4 separate regions of the Homo sapiens genome follow, and all the other regions are linked to region 3. Evidence: promoter capture Hi-C in human tissues and cell types (Jung and others, 2019). All regions are on one chromosome and are shown on one strand. The core of a region is centred on a gene start or on the middle of the fragment in contact, and the rest is flanking DNA. Distances in the headings are between cores, read along the strand shown.

The links. Contacts are between HindIII fragments. The study calls those that stand out against the background at their distance.
Region 1: a fragment that was not itself captured here is called in contact with the fragment with the promoter of FARP1 in region 3 in 1 of the 25 tissues and cell types used here (dorsolateral prefrontal cortex).
Region 2: a contact is called between a fragment that was not itself captured here and the fragment with the promoter of FARP1 in region 3, in 1 of the 25 tissues and cell types used here (dorsolateral prefrontal cortex).
Region 4: a contact is called between a fragment that was not itself captured here and the fragment with the promoter of FARP1 in region 3, in 1 of the 25 tissues and cell types used here (mesenchymal stem cells).

What each region holds. Positions count from the first base shown.
Region 1 is chr13:98,855,948-98,858,810 of GRCh38, forward strand. DOCK9 (dedicator of cytokinesis 9) reads right to left here. Exons shown (of 53, transcript NM_001366683.2): 34 at 1-84. Among named protein-coding and RNA genes, the nearest start is that of DOCK9-AS1, 25 kb to the left of the region's middle. The HindIII fragment of the contact is 8,191 bases long and covers 1-2,863 here.
Region 2 is chr13:97,430,199-97,432,898 of GRCh38, forward strand. No RefSeq gene overlaps it. Among named protein-coding and RNA genes, the nearest start is that of RAP2A, 2.6 kb to the right of the region's middle. The HindIII fragment of the contact is 3,559 bases long and covers 1-2,700 here.
Region 3 is chr13:98,141,699-98,144,490 of GRCh38, forward strand. It overlaps FARP1 (FERM, ARH/RhoGEF and pleckstrin domain protein 1), which reads left to right and starts at 1,396. Exons shown (of 27, transcript NM_005766.4): 1 at 1,396-1,794. It overlaps LOC105370328 (a long non-coding RNA gene), which reads right to left and starts at 2,212. Exons shown (of 3, transcript XR_931670.4): 1 at 2,141-2,212. RefSeq lists silencers at 847-896, 1,137-1,446. The HindIII fragment of the contact is 5,274 bases long and covers 1-2,792 here.
Region 4 is chr13:98,653,662-98,656,510 of GRCh38, forward strand. No RefSeq gene overlaps it. Among named protein-coding and RNA genes, the nearest start is that of STK24-AS1, 78 kb to the left of the region's middle. The HindIII fragment of the contact is 8,885 bases long and covers 1-2,849 here.

The sequences.
Region 1 (2,863 bases), core at 225-2,724, 710 kb after region 3:
CCGAATCTGTGCTTATGAGAGATCCTCTCGAATCAGCATTTCTCACACTGTTGATGTTTGGAGTTGAGGTTGTATATGGAGAAGCTAAATGGAAATCAAGCCAACAATAAAGTTTTATTAAGACAGAACAAAATAAAGATGAGTACTGAACTTTAAGGGAAATTGCTTTTATTGCACTTATTTTTTCTGTTAGGAAGTTGGCTCAAGAGTTGCATTCCATTACTTCACCTTTAAAGAACCAGGTCATATACAATGAGATAAAAAGAAACTAGTCTGAAACATTCAGATGTAAACATCAATTCACTTGTTAGAAACCACCTTTGATCGCTAAAGACTAAATGCATACCTGTTTCAGAATGTGATAGAATGAAGACTTAAAAAAATTAAAAGATAAATCCACCTACAACTATCAAATCACAAAATTAAACCACACAACAAACTTGTAGCATTCAAACTGGTAATAAACACTGAGGAGCCTACCCAACTCTGAGGGGTGTCATGGGGTATTTTAAATTTTCGAGGAGAACACAGTGATATGTGACCTCAGCCAGAAGCTGCTGTTTCAGCAGCAGGTTGTGCTATGCTCCTTTTGAAGACATATTTGTGAAGCTGGGTATTTGGGGGCCTGCTATGATAAAAGGCAAGTAATCAATGAGGGACAGGAAATGCGAATGGTGCTGGCCAATCTGACCCAAAGGCTGAGAAGCTGTCAGTGTCCAACAGGTACACACCACCCATTTGTAGTGAGTTGTGGTTATTAAAAATAAAATTAATTGTTTCCTTTAAATTTATGTGTATTATTTCTTTTAAGTGCCTACTAAATTGTTAGGATGTAAGTACTTATTAAGTTATTTGGTCCTAAGTACCTAATAAAGAGAACTGCTGGGTGTGTCTTTCAGCCTAGGGATGCCACGAAATAAAGTGACACTAAGGGTGCTGTGAACGGGGAATATCTGGGAATCTGCTATAAACAACTATGAGCAGAAAGGAAATCTAATGTGGAAATAAAATTTGTGATGTCCATGAAAAAAACAGTATTTGAAGGCAGAAATCACTCCCTATCTTGGTACTATGGAATTTTTTAAGGTAATAGATTGACTTCCTGCTTAGATAAGATTTAAATAAATCACATAATTTAAAACGACTCTTTGGACTTGTACATTCCGTGCTGAACCAAAAGGCGTGCCTCCAGCGGAAAGGCCTGGCTGGTTTGGCAGATGGCATCAGGAGATTTGGACTCTGTGTCTGGCAGCTGTGAGCACACATTCTCCCAGACGCAAGCTGAAGATGCCATTACTTGGCACTTCACAACAGGCTGGTTGTTTTCAGATCTCAGTAGGCAAATGAGCTGCCATGGACTGGGATACTTCTAAGTTAAAAAATAAATAAACAACAAAATAAATATAGCCAGCCTCTAGGTTACACCAAAAGTATATTTGAAAGTGACTCCTCTGCCTCAGCCTCCCAAGTAGCTGTGATTACAGGCGACTGCCACCAACCCTGGCTAATTTTTTTGTATTTCTAGTAGAGACGGGTTTTCACCATGTTGGCCAGGCTGGTGTCGAACTCCTGACCTCAGGTGATCTGCCCACCTCGGCCTCCCAAAGTGCTGGGATTACAGGCATGAGCCACCGTGCCTGGTCAGTCTTTAACTCTTTAACCTTAGAAGGAAGACCTGTGACATCAAGGTCATAAATCCTTCCCTCTGTTGAACACTCAGATTTATTCACTGCTATCCCTGAAACTGATTCAGTGTATTAAAGATCAAGAAAAGAAGAGCCAGGAGAATTTGAAAAAAGAAGCAAAGGCTTGAACATGGTTTCATTAAGCCTTATTGTCAGCCAGTGGCTGCGTCTCCCCAGGAGAGAAACCATGTGAATGATTGTCGCAAGGGACAGGTAAAAACCCTGTGAAAAAACTATGGCCTTTTTCTGTACTCAGATAAGAAACACATGCTATGACCAAATTATAATTTTTCTAATATAATCATATTTCATATTTAATGTAGAACAGCATTTGAAGAACACAGAAGTCATGAAAAAGAACACAGAACTCAAGAGAAAGAGGTCCTCAGTAAAGTAAAATTAGGCCCTAAGTTCTCAGAGTCTCAAGCTTGATTCCAGAACTAGAGTCCTAATTTAAGACAAACAGATGGAAATGCAATATATCAAAATCAATATGCTTAGTTTGTTCCTATTTTTATGTCTTTGTGTATGTGTTTGTATTTAATATCCTGGCCCAGTGCATAGCTTTTAAAGTCCTTAAACGACACTTGAGTAAAATGAAAAGAAGATAAATTCGTCCCTCTTCCCTTGGTACCACTGAGTAGGTGGAAAAAGAAACCCTGAGCCTCAGGACGCTTGCCTTTTAAAATGAATGTAATCTCAGAGTAGTTTTTATCCAGGCAGTGAATCACTTTTAAAACTCTCAGGCACCATGATCCAAAGACATTTAAAAAACTGTGACGGCACATTCTCAGTATGTGTGGAAACAGGATTCTTCTAACAGAGATGTAAGGAGAGTTTGCTCTTGAAGGAGAAGCACCAGGACTAAAATTAGCTAGAAACTCCCTGATGAACAAAGAATTGTTAAAGCTGCCAGAAAAAAACTAGTAAACCCAGTTCAAAGATGAGGCTTCCCTGGAAGGTACTCCTAAAAGAGAACAGGGATTTAAATCTTCAAGAAAGGAGGCAATATAGATAACCTGAGTATAATAAGCCTGTCGAGGTGAATTCCTATGAAAAGTGGATTTGGATCTTAAAATTCAAGAGTGAAAAAGGATTAAGTCAGTTTCAAGTACTTTTCACAGCTGCAATGTCAGTGCGGAGCAATTGGAGGCTATGATGCTAAAGATCCCCAGTGG
Region 2 (2,700 bases), core at 59-2,558, 710 kb before region 3:
ATGGCCTTTTGAAACATCTACTCTCTCCACCCATACGTTTCTTTTATTGAGTTGTTTCCATACTCTTAATTTCTGCATTCTAATTCCTTTTCTTTTCAAAAGCACTGAGACATATCACATTTTTTAAAGGAAGAACAAAGTTTATTTTGCCCCTTCCTTTCCACTCCACATATATACTGCAGATTCTCAACTGTATTAGGAGCCTCACAGGTCAAGAAACCATCGTCTGCTCTCCTTATACTTGCCAGCAGCGTTTCACAGGTGCTAAATGTACTTGACATGCCCTTCCCCTTTATGTTTAATCAGAGGCATGCAGGCTTTAATAAGAAGCATTAGGAATCAGGGTTTTACAGTCGAAAAGTACCCCTCGCATTACAAACATCCTCTACTAATTTGTTTCTATTAAATTATCTGCATATTTGCTTCTTGCTGGTGTCAGGAAGTCCCAGAATACAGTACCTTTCCCACTTCATACCACCTTTTCCAACACCTTTTACAGAAAGAAAGGATGGACTTGGGTTTCCACGGTAACACAAGTGCGATAATTGAAGGTATCTGGCTATAGGTGAGATAACTCCCTTTCAGATTTAGTGGAGAGAGGAGAAATGAAGATTTTCTTTCTTTTTATTCTCCTGGCAATGCACTTTGGAAACTAAAGGGATCCTGCAGTGTCAGTTACTGCGTTAAGTTTTCACTATCTTACAGATTTACAGCTCTTGGGAATAATTCAAATTTCTTTTATATCATTTTTATTTTTTATTTCCCACAAACAAATGAAGATATAAGTTATTTCTATAATCATCTCAAAATAGAGTTTATGCTGGCATCGGAATGAACATGACTAAGGGGTTAGAAAATAGACATCCATCTCCCACCCAAGTCCTCTAAATTCTCTACACGTCCTGACATCCTTTTTATAGCAGCTAATCTTTCACCCAACATTTCACCTACAACCACAAATCAGGTAAGTACCATCATTTAAGCCAGAATAGGTGAGAAAATATGCTCCGACCTGTCATGTTTCTTTTGCCTCTTGGTGGTTAAAAATCAACCTTTATGGTACTGAGCATGAAATCTGAGGCCTGTCAATATAAGGCCTGTAAATAAATGAACTGTAACCACCCCAAGGGCTGCAGTCTCTATACCCCTTCTTATCAAAAACGTCAGCATTGATGAGAGGTCAGGGGAAATAGCCTGAGAAATGTCACAAAGCTGTCCTACTCTGTATTATGCTAAATGGAGTGACTACGGAGCCCACTCACTATTTTTGTGACAGCTTCAATCCAGAGCTTCTCAACATCTAGGGACCTAGGAGTCATGAAAACAGTTACTTAAGGCAACCTTCTGGACCCCACAATCCCAATACAAATTTCTCAAAAACATTAATCACTGGAACTTCATTCCTTGCAAAGTAAATGGACTTAGAGCTCCTTTGTAATGCAAGGTACTAGATGAGTTGTCATGATCTAGAGAGAAAGCTTCACGCTTCCTGGCTCTATTTAACAACCCTAAGAACTTCTTATCACCAAGATGCACAGTTAGAATCTTAAGACAGTCTGTCTTTCCTTGGAAAAGAAGTATAGCTTCTACTAACCCAAAGTAACCATGAATAAGCATACCAATTTTACACAAAATATGAGACTTCTGGAAAGCTAGGTGAACACCATACTTACCTACATCCTCTTGAAACATCCCTGCCAAAGTAGCTCAGATATGAAGCATCCATGTAAGCTCTTTCAATTTTAATTCACTATTTCATGTTAACTAGCCTAGGATGAAATAGTAGATCCTCTTCGGTTCCAGTTCCCTTAAAACAGTCCTGATTCTTAGTCCTTTTTATTAATATAATACCTTCACTGCTGATTCTGGTGGCTCAGATAGTACCATTCATATTTTAATGATATGTAATCAAGAAATGCTGAGTTATATTTTACTACATACACATTTTTAAATTCAGAGGACATTTGTCCTTGATAATTTTAAATGAAAACTTGGTGTGTGTTCATTACAGCAAGGTAATGCAAATATAAGTTATCCATTCTAATATAACGAAGCTATAGGGAAATAAGAAACTACTAAATTTGAGTAGTCTTTGTAGTAGTTTGACTATCGACAGAAAAGATGGTGAAAGAATACCTGGCTTTTAACTCAGACCAAAATCCCCTCTGCATGATGACCTTGTGGGAAAGAGGAACGGGGAGAGGTATGCCAGGCTCTAACAACAGAACTACAGAAACGTGTTATTCGCAGGAAATGTGCGACAGTAACGAACAGGTGAGACTAGTTTGAGAAGGACATAGTTTAAAGAAAGTAAACTGAATAACCAGTTACTGCAAAAAATAATGCAGGAAAGCTTGGGGATGTATCGTCTCCTAAATTTGACGTTATGGGTGGGAGAGGATGTGTAACTAAGATGCAATGCTAGCGACAGAACGCTAAGTTTTAAAACTCAATAGTGAAAGAAAAAAAATAATGTTTTGGGAGGAACGCCTGGAAGACCCATGCAACTGCTGCACGATGTTTCCTTAAGGACCGGAACATTTCTCACCCTGAAGACAAAAGTCCCTGTGTTCTCGATTCAGCCCACATCCCTCAGCACCATTTCCATGCCCATCATTTAGGCAGAATGCCACGGAGGCGACGTGAAAAGTGGAATTCATCATTCTGGCTTGCAACGCATCTTGTTCTTTTGCCAGAACA
Region 3 (2,792 bases), core at 146-2,645:
CCTTTATCCCTGCAGGCGATTCAGATGCTTGCTAAGGTTTCATTAGGTAGGTCGGGGATGCGGCCCAAGAATGTTCATTTCTTGACGTTTCCAGGGGCTGCTGGTGGTGGTCGTGGTCTGAGAACCACACTTAGAGAATCACGAGCAGAAAAAAATCTGATCTGTGACACACAGCTGGTTGGGCTGACAGAGCAAAGCCTCAAACCCACCATTTCTTCTCTTCAACCACAGACCACCAAATCTGCAAGTATTACATCTCTGCTCCTCCCCAGGAGCTGCCCACAAGCACCCCCTACTTCCAAGACCCCTGTTCTTGTCTCAACCCGCCCTTCTATCAGGGTCCCTACACTCCACTTCTGCCCAGCTCCTGTCCAGCTGTGAGTTCACTTGAGGCCTCTCCCGTGAAATCTGCCCTCTCGGTCTGAGGTCAGGGAACTCCTGTAAGACGCAAAAGGCCCACGGTTCTGAGCCAGTGGCCTCCGAAGGCCGGAATCCGCTAGCCCCGGGTCTGGCAGAACGTCACTTGCTGCGCCCTAGGCCTCTTCCCGCCACGCTTAGAGAGAGGGACTGGAGGCTCAGAAGGGGGAAGAGAAGGTAACGCGGCAGCTGCTGGGTGGGGACGGTGACTGTGCCCCTAGATCGCTGCCTCCTGGGTCCTGAATCTTGCTCCCCGCTCCGTAGAGTTCCCGAAACCCCGAAGGCTCTCAAGCACCGCAAGCCACTCCTAACCTCCCCCACGCCATTCCCCAAGGGCACTGTCCCCCGAGGCTGGGCGGGCGGGAACTGTCATGGGATTCGCTCGGGCGGAGGGCGCTGGGCCAGGACGTGGGCGGGCGCGGGGTGGCCGCCGCTCCCCCAAGCTTAAGTCCCGCGCAGCCCGGGGTGGTGCCGGAAGCCCGTGCCTGTGGCTCCGGGGGAGGGGAGGGCTCGGTGGGTCCCTGAAGACTGTCCTCCCCGCGCGACGTCGCAGGCGAAGCAGCCCCAGGCAGGACCTCAAAAAGCGACCTGCAGAGTCCGAGCCCCTGACCGCCCGCCTGCCGCTCCCGGCTTCGCCGTGCACACGTCTCCCGCTCTCCCCGGTTCGTTTTTCGCCACAGCTGCTGGATTCGCGTCTCGCCAGTGGCGCTCCCCGCGCTGCATTAGGTAGCGCCGCGCGGAGCCCGGCCCTGGCCGGAAGCCCAAGAGAGGCGCAGATCCCCGGCGGCGCGCTGGGCTCGGGAGGCCCCTGGGCGCACCTGCCCGGGCGGAGCGGAGCGGGGCGGGGCGGGCGCAGGGCGCGGGCCCGGACGCTGGAGGGGGCTGTGGCTCTCCCGCGTCCCCGCTGCTCGGGCTGCGCGGCGCCCGCCTCCCCCCGCCGAGGGGCCGGCCCAGACCCGGGGAGGGGCGGTGGCCACTGCACTTCCCGCTCGCCGGCCTCAGAGGCGGCGGGTCCGGCGCGGGCGCAGCGGTGCGGGCGCTCGGCTGGGGCGCGGGGCGGGGACGCGGCCGCTGCCCGCTTTGCGCCGCTCCTCCCTGCGCGAGTAGCGCTGGCCCCGGCGTCGAGGCGGCCATGGCGACCCGGAGCCCGCTCCCCACCCACCCCGCCTGCTCCGCCCTCCCCTCCGCCCCGCGCCACCTTTGATGGCTCGGACCTCAGCCGGCCACCGCCAGCCCTGCTCGCGCGCCCGCGCCGCCGCCGCCCGCGGGTATTAATAGCCGGCGCCGCCGCGCCCTCGGCCGCCGGGGGCTTGGGAGCCGCCGATCCCGGAGCCCGAGCCGGGAGAGGGAGCCGCCGCAGCCGCCGGCGCTGTGGAGGTAGGAGGCGCGCGGTGAACAATGACCGCGGCGGGAGGGCGGGGGCCGGCGGGGTCCGGGCCGCGGGCGGCAACTTGTGCGAGTCCAGGCTCCCGCAGCGCACGGCCGCGGCTGCGGGCGAAGGTGGGCGCGTGGTCCCCGAGGTCCTGCCCTGCGCAGTCGGGCGGCGGGTCGGGCCCGGGCAGCCCCGGCCACCATCGCAGGAGCTCGGGGGCCTCGGGGCTCCGGGCTGCCCCCTGCGCCCCTCTCCCCTCACCTCCGCCGACGTCGGGCTGCGGGGCTCCGCGCCGGTCCCCGCTCGCCTCCCCCGACCCCGGCGCCCTTCCCCCGTTTCCTTCCGTCCTACCCGCCCGCTGACAGCGCTGGACGCCGCTTCCGGACCTCGGGCCGCAATCTCGGCCCCTGAGGCCGGTTGCGGGCCGGGGAGGTGGCCGCTGGCGCGGATGCCGCCGGGTGCCCGCCGCTCGCCCACGCGCGGCGCGAGGGTTCCCGGCGGGTGACAAAGAGGAACACACCCTCTGCCCAAGTTAGATTTGTGTCTCTCTTTACTGTCTGCCTTTATGCAGGGCAAAGTTTTTTTTATTTTTTATTTTTTAAAGCAAAGGACAGATTGCTTTGCGGCGAGTATTTCCAAACAACTTCTGATTGTGGTTTTACGATTCAAGTTCCGGAAACTTTAGCTGTGTGATCCGGCTGGACCCCGGAGACTCTGTGTGTGTGTGTGTGTGTGTGTGTTTTATTTGAGGGGGGGAAATACGAATTCCCTGTAATGAGTCTGGATCTCGTTTGTGGCAGCTGGAGGCCAGCGGCTGTTGGGGATCGAGTAGGGTTCCCCAGAAAGGAGGGAGCTGAGGCTCACAAAGAAGCGAGGCCCTGGTATCTGATCAGTTCGTGGAGACGTGGGAGAGCCTGCTTGTCATCTGGAACAGTTTAGCAGCCTCGGCCTCCCTGTCTCTCCCAGCCCTGGGGAGTACCGGTGGCCTCTGGCCGTTTCATTA
Region 4 (2,849 bases), core at 219-2,718, 510 kb after region 3:
TACCAGGGATTGGGCATTTAAAACCCTCCAGGTGACTCTCGTGCACAGCCGGTGCTGAGAACCTCTGGCTGACCTCTCCAAAGCTTTTTGTTCCTTATGTGTAAAATGGAGGGATCCACTCTTCACCAAGATTTATTCATTGAGCACCTTTGTTTTTTTGGCCATCAGCAAAAGCCCCCAATTTCAGTACTACATATCTCCCATGTAACAGTTTGTGATTAGCCGCAAACTAGACCCAAACCTAGCTGATCCGACTGCTGGCCAGTTCTTCCCCCCATTCCACAGCCCTCCATCAACAGCTATCCCAGCTGATCCGACTGCCGGCCAGCTCTTCCCCCCATTCCACAGCCCTCCATCAACAGATATCCCAGCTGATCCGACTGCCGGCCAGCTCTTCCCCCCATTCCACAGCCCTCCATCAACAGATATCCCAGCTGATCCGACTGCCGGCCAGCTCTTCCCACCATTCCACAGCCCTCCATCAACAGACACCCCACTGATCCGACTGCCGGCCAGCTCTTCCACCATTCCACAGCCCTCCATCAACAGATACCCCACTGATCCGACTGCCGGCCAGCTCTTCCCACCATTCCACAGCCCTCCATCAACAGATATCCCAGCTGATCCGACTGCCGGCCAGCTCTTCCCCCCATTCCACAGCCCTCCATCAACAGATATCCCAGCTGATCCGACTGCCGGCCAGCTCTTCCCCCCATTCCACAGCCCTCCATCAACAGATATCCCAGCTGATCCGACTGCCGGCCAGCTCTTCCACCATTCCACAGCCCTCCATCAATAGATATTTTCCACACATGGTTGTTCTGAGGATCAACCACGAAACTCCAAGTACAGTGCCTGGAGCATGAGTCAGTAGCAGTAATATACTTAATTAACTTGAGATTAGAACATTAGAACTAATTCTAATTTACATCTTTCCAGGTATCTTGGAGCTCAGTACATACATACCTACATACTACACACACACACACACACACACACACACACACACACACGTATATATGAAAAAATAAAGACAAACAGAAATTAAAATACATATAGCCGGGCGCGGTGGCTCACACCTATAATCCCAGCACTTTGGGAGGCTAAGGCAGGCGGATTACCTGAGGTCAGGATTTCGAGACTAGCCTGGCCAACATGGTGAAACCCCATCTCCACTAAAAATACAAAAATTAGCCAGGCGTGGTGGTGGGCGCCTATAATCCCAGCTACTCTGGAGGCTGAGGCACAAGAATTGCTTGAACCCAGGAGGCAGAGGTTGCAGTGAGCAAAGATCGAGCCACGGCATTCCAGCCTGGGCGACAGAGTGAGACTCCATCTTGAAAAAAATAAACAAATAAAATTAGGGCCCTTACCCCTAGTCCTGGATTTCCTGGATCAACTTTTCTCATCCAGGTCTGCGTCAGGTGGTCCTTGGGATCATTACAATGTGGTCTGTTTGCTGGAGTGGAGGAAGATGATGGCTTCCAGTGGAGCATGCGGGCTTGGAAGTGGTGTGGATGCAGGATGGCTTGAGCCATATCCCGTTTGTCTCCCTGAAGGTCCCGTTTCAGGAAATCTTTGACTCTTGTTTTGGGGTATTTGAGTGACTTCCTGATATAGTCCCCAAATTCCAGGGCTGTGGCTCCAGGGGGCCAACTGAGGGCTGTGCATTCTCAGGGTGACAGCCTGAACCACACAGACGTCAGGAAAGCCTTCCTTGAAATCCCTGCGCACTTCCCCTCTCCATATCAGAATCATCTGGAGACTCGTTAAAGCACAAGTGTGGAGGGTTAAAGCAGAGTGTTTGATTCAATACAGCTGTGGCAGTGCCTGAGAAGGCGCATTTCTAAGTTGTTCTCAGAGGCTGCTGATGCTGCTGGTCCAGGGACCACACTTTGAAAACCACTAGACTAGGGAGAGAGCTGGCATCATCACCTGAGTCTTGTGAGGCTGCCTCTTGGGGATTCTAACAGTGACTTTGAGGCCTCTAGGCCTGACCTGGTCCATGAACTCTTTGTTCACGTTGGAGGATAGAAGACCACGGGGAGAAGTAGGAGGAGGAAGTTTGGGCAGATCCACGACCAGGAGTGTAGGAACTCACACTTGAGGCTGGACAGGGAAGTCTAGAGTACAGAGTCTGTTGTTGTTGTTGTTGTTGTTGTTGTTTTAAAGAGGTAGGAGTCTTGGGTGTTTTTTTTTTTTTTTGAGTTGGAGTCTAGCTCTGTTGCCCAGGCTGGAGTGCAGTGGTGTGATCTCGGCTCACTGCAACCTCCACCTTTCAAGTGATTCTCCTGCCTCAGCCTCCCGAGTAGCTGGAATTACAGGCATCCGCCACCAGGCCCAGTTAATTTTTGTGTTTTTAGTAGAGATGGGGTTTCACTGTGTTGGCCAGGCTGGTCTTGAACTTCTGACCTAGTGATCCACCCGCCTCAGCCTCCCAAAGTGCTGGGATTACAAGCGTGGGCCCCTGTGCCGGCTTTTTTTTTTTTTTTTTTTTTTTTTTTAAAGAGGCGGGAGTCTGTCTATGTTGCCCAGGCTGGTCTTGAACTCCTGACCTCGAGCCATGCTCCAGCTTCAGCCTCCCAAGTATCTGGGACTACAGGCATTTGCCGCCATGTTGGCTTAGTTACAGAAGTCGTACACGCTAGGATTGAACATCAAAGTCCAGGGATAAATGCAAGCCTTGAATGCCAAGAAAGTCTTCACAGCAGACAAGGTTCAGAGGCAGCAAAATGTGGGATGGTGATGCCAAATGGGAATCACTGCCATGATGAATCCTCAGGCAGAGAAGGACCTGAAATTCTGTGTGCAAAGGTGGTGAAAAGGGAGGTGGGATCCTGAGCTCATAG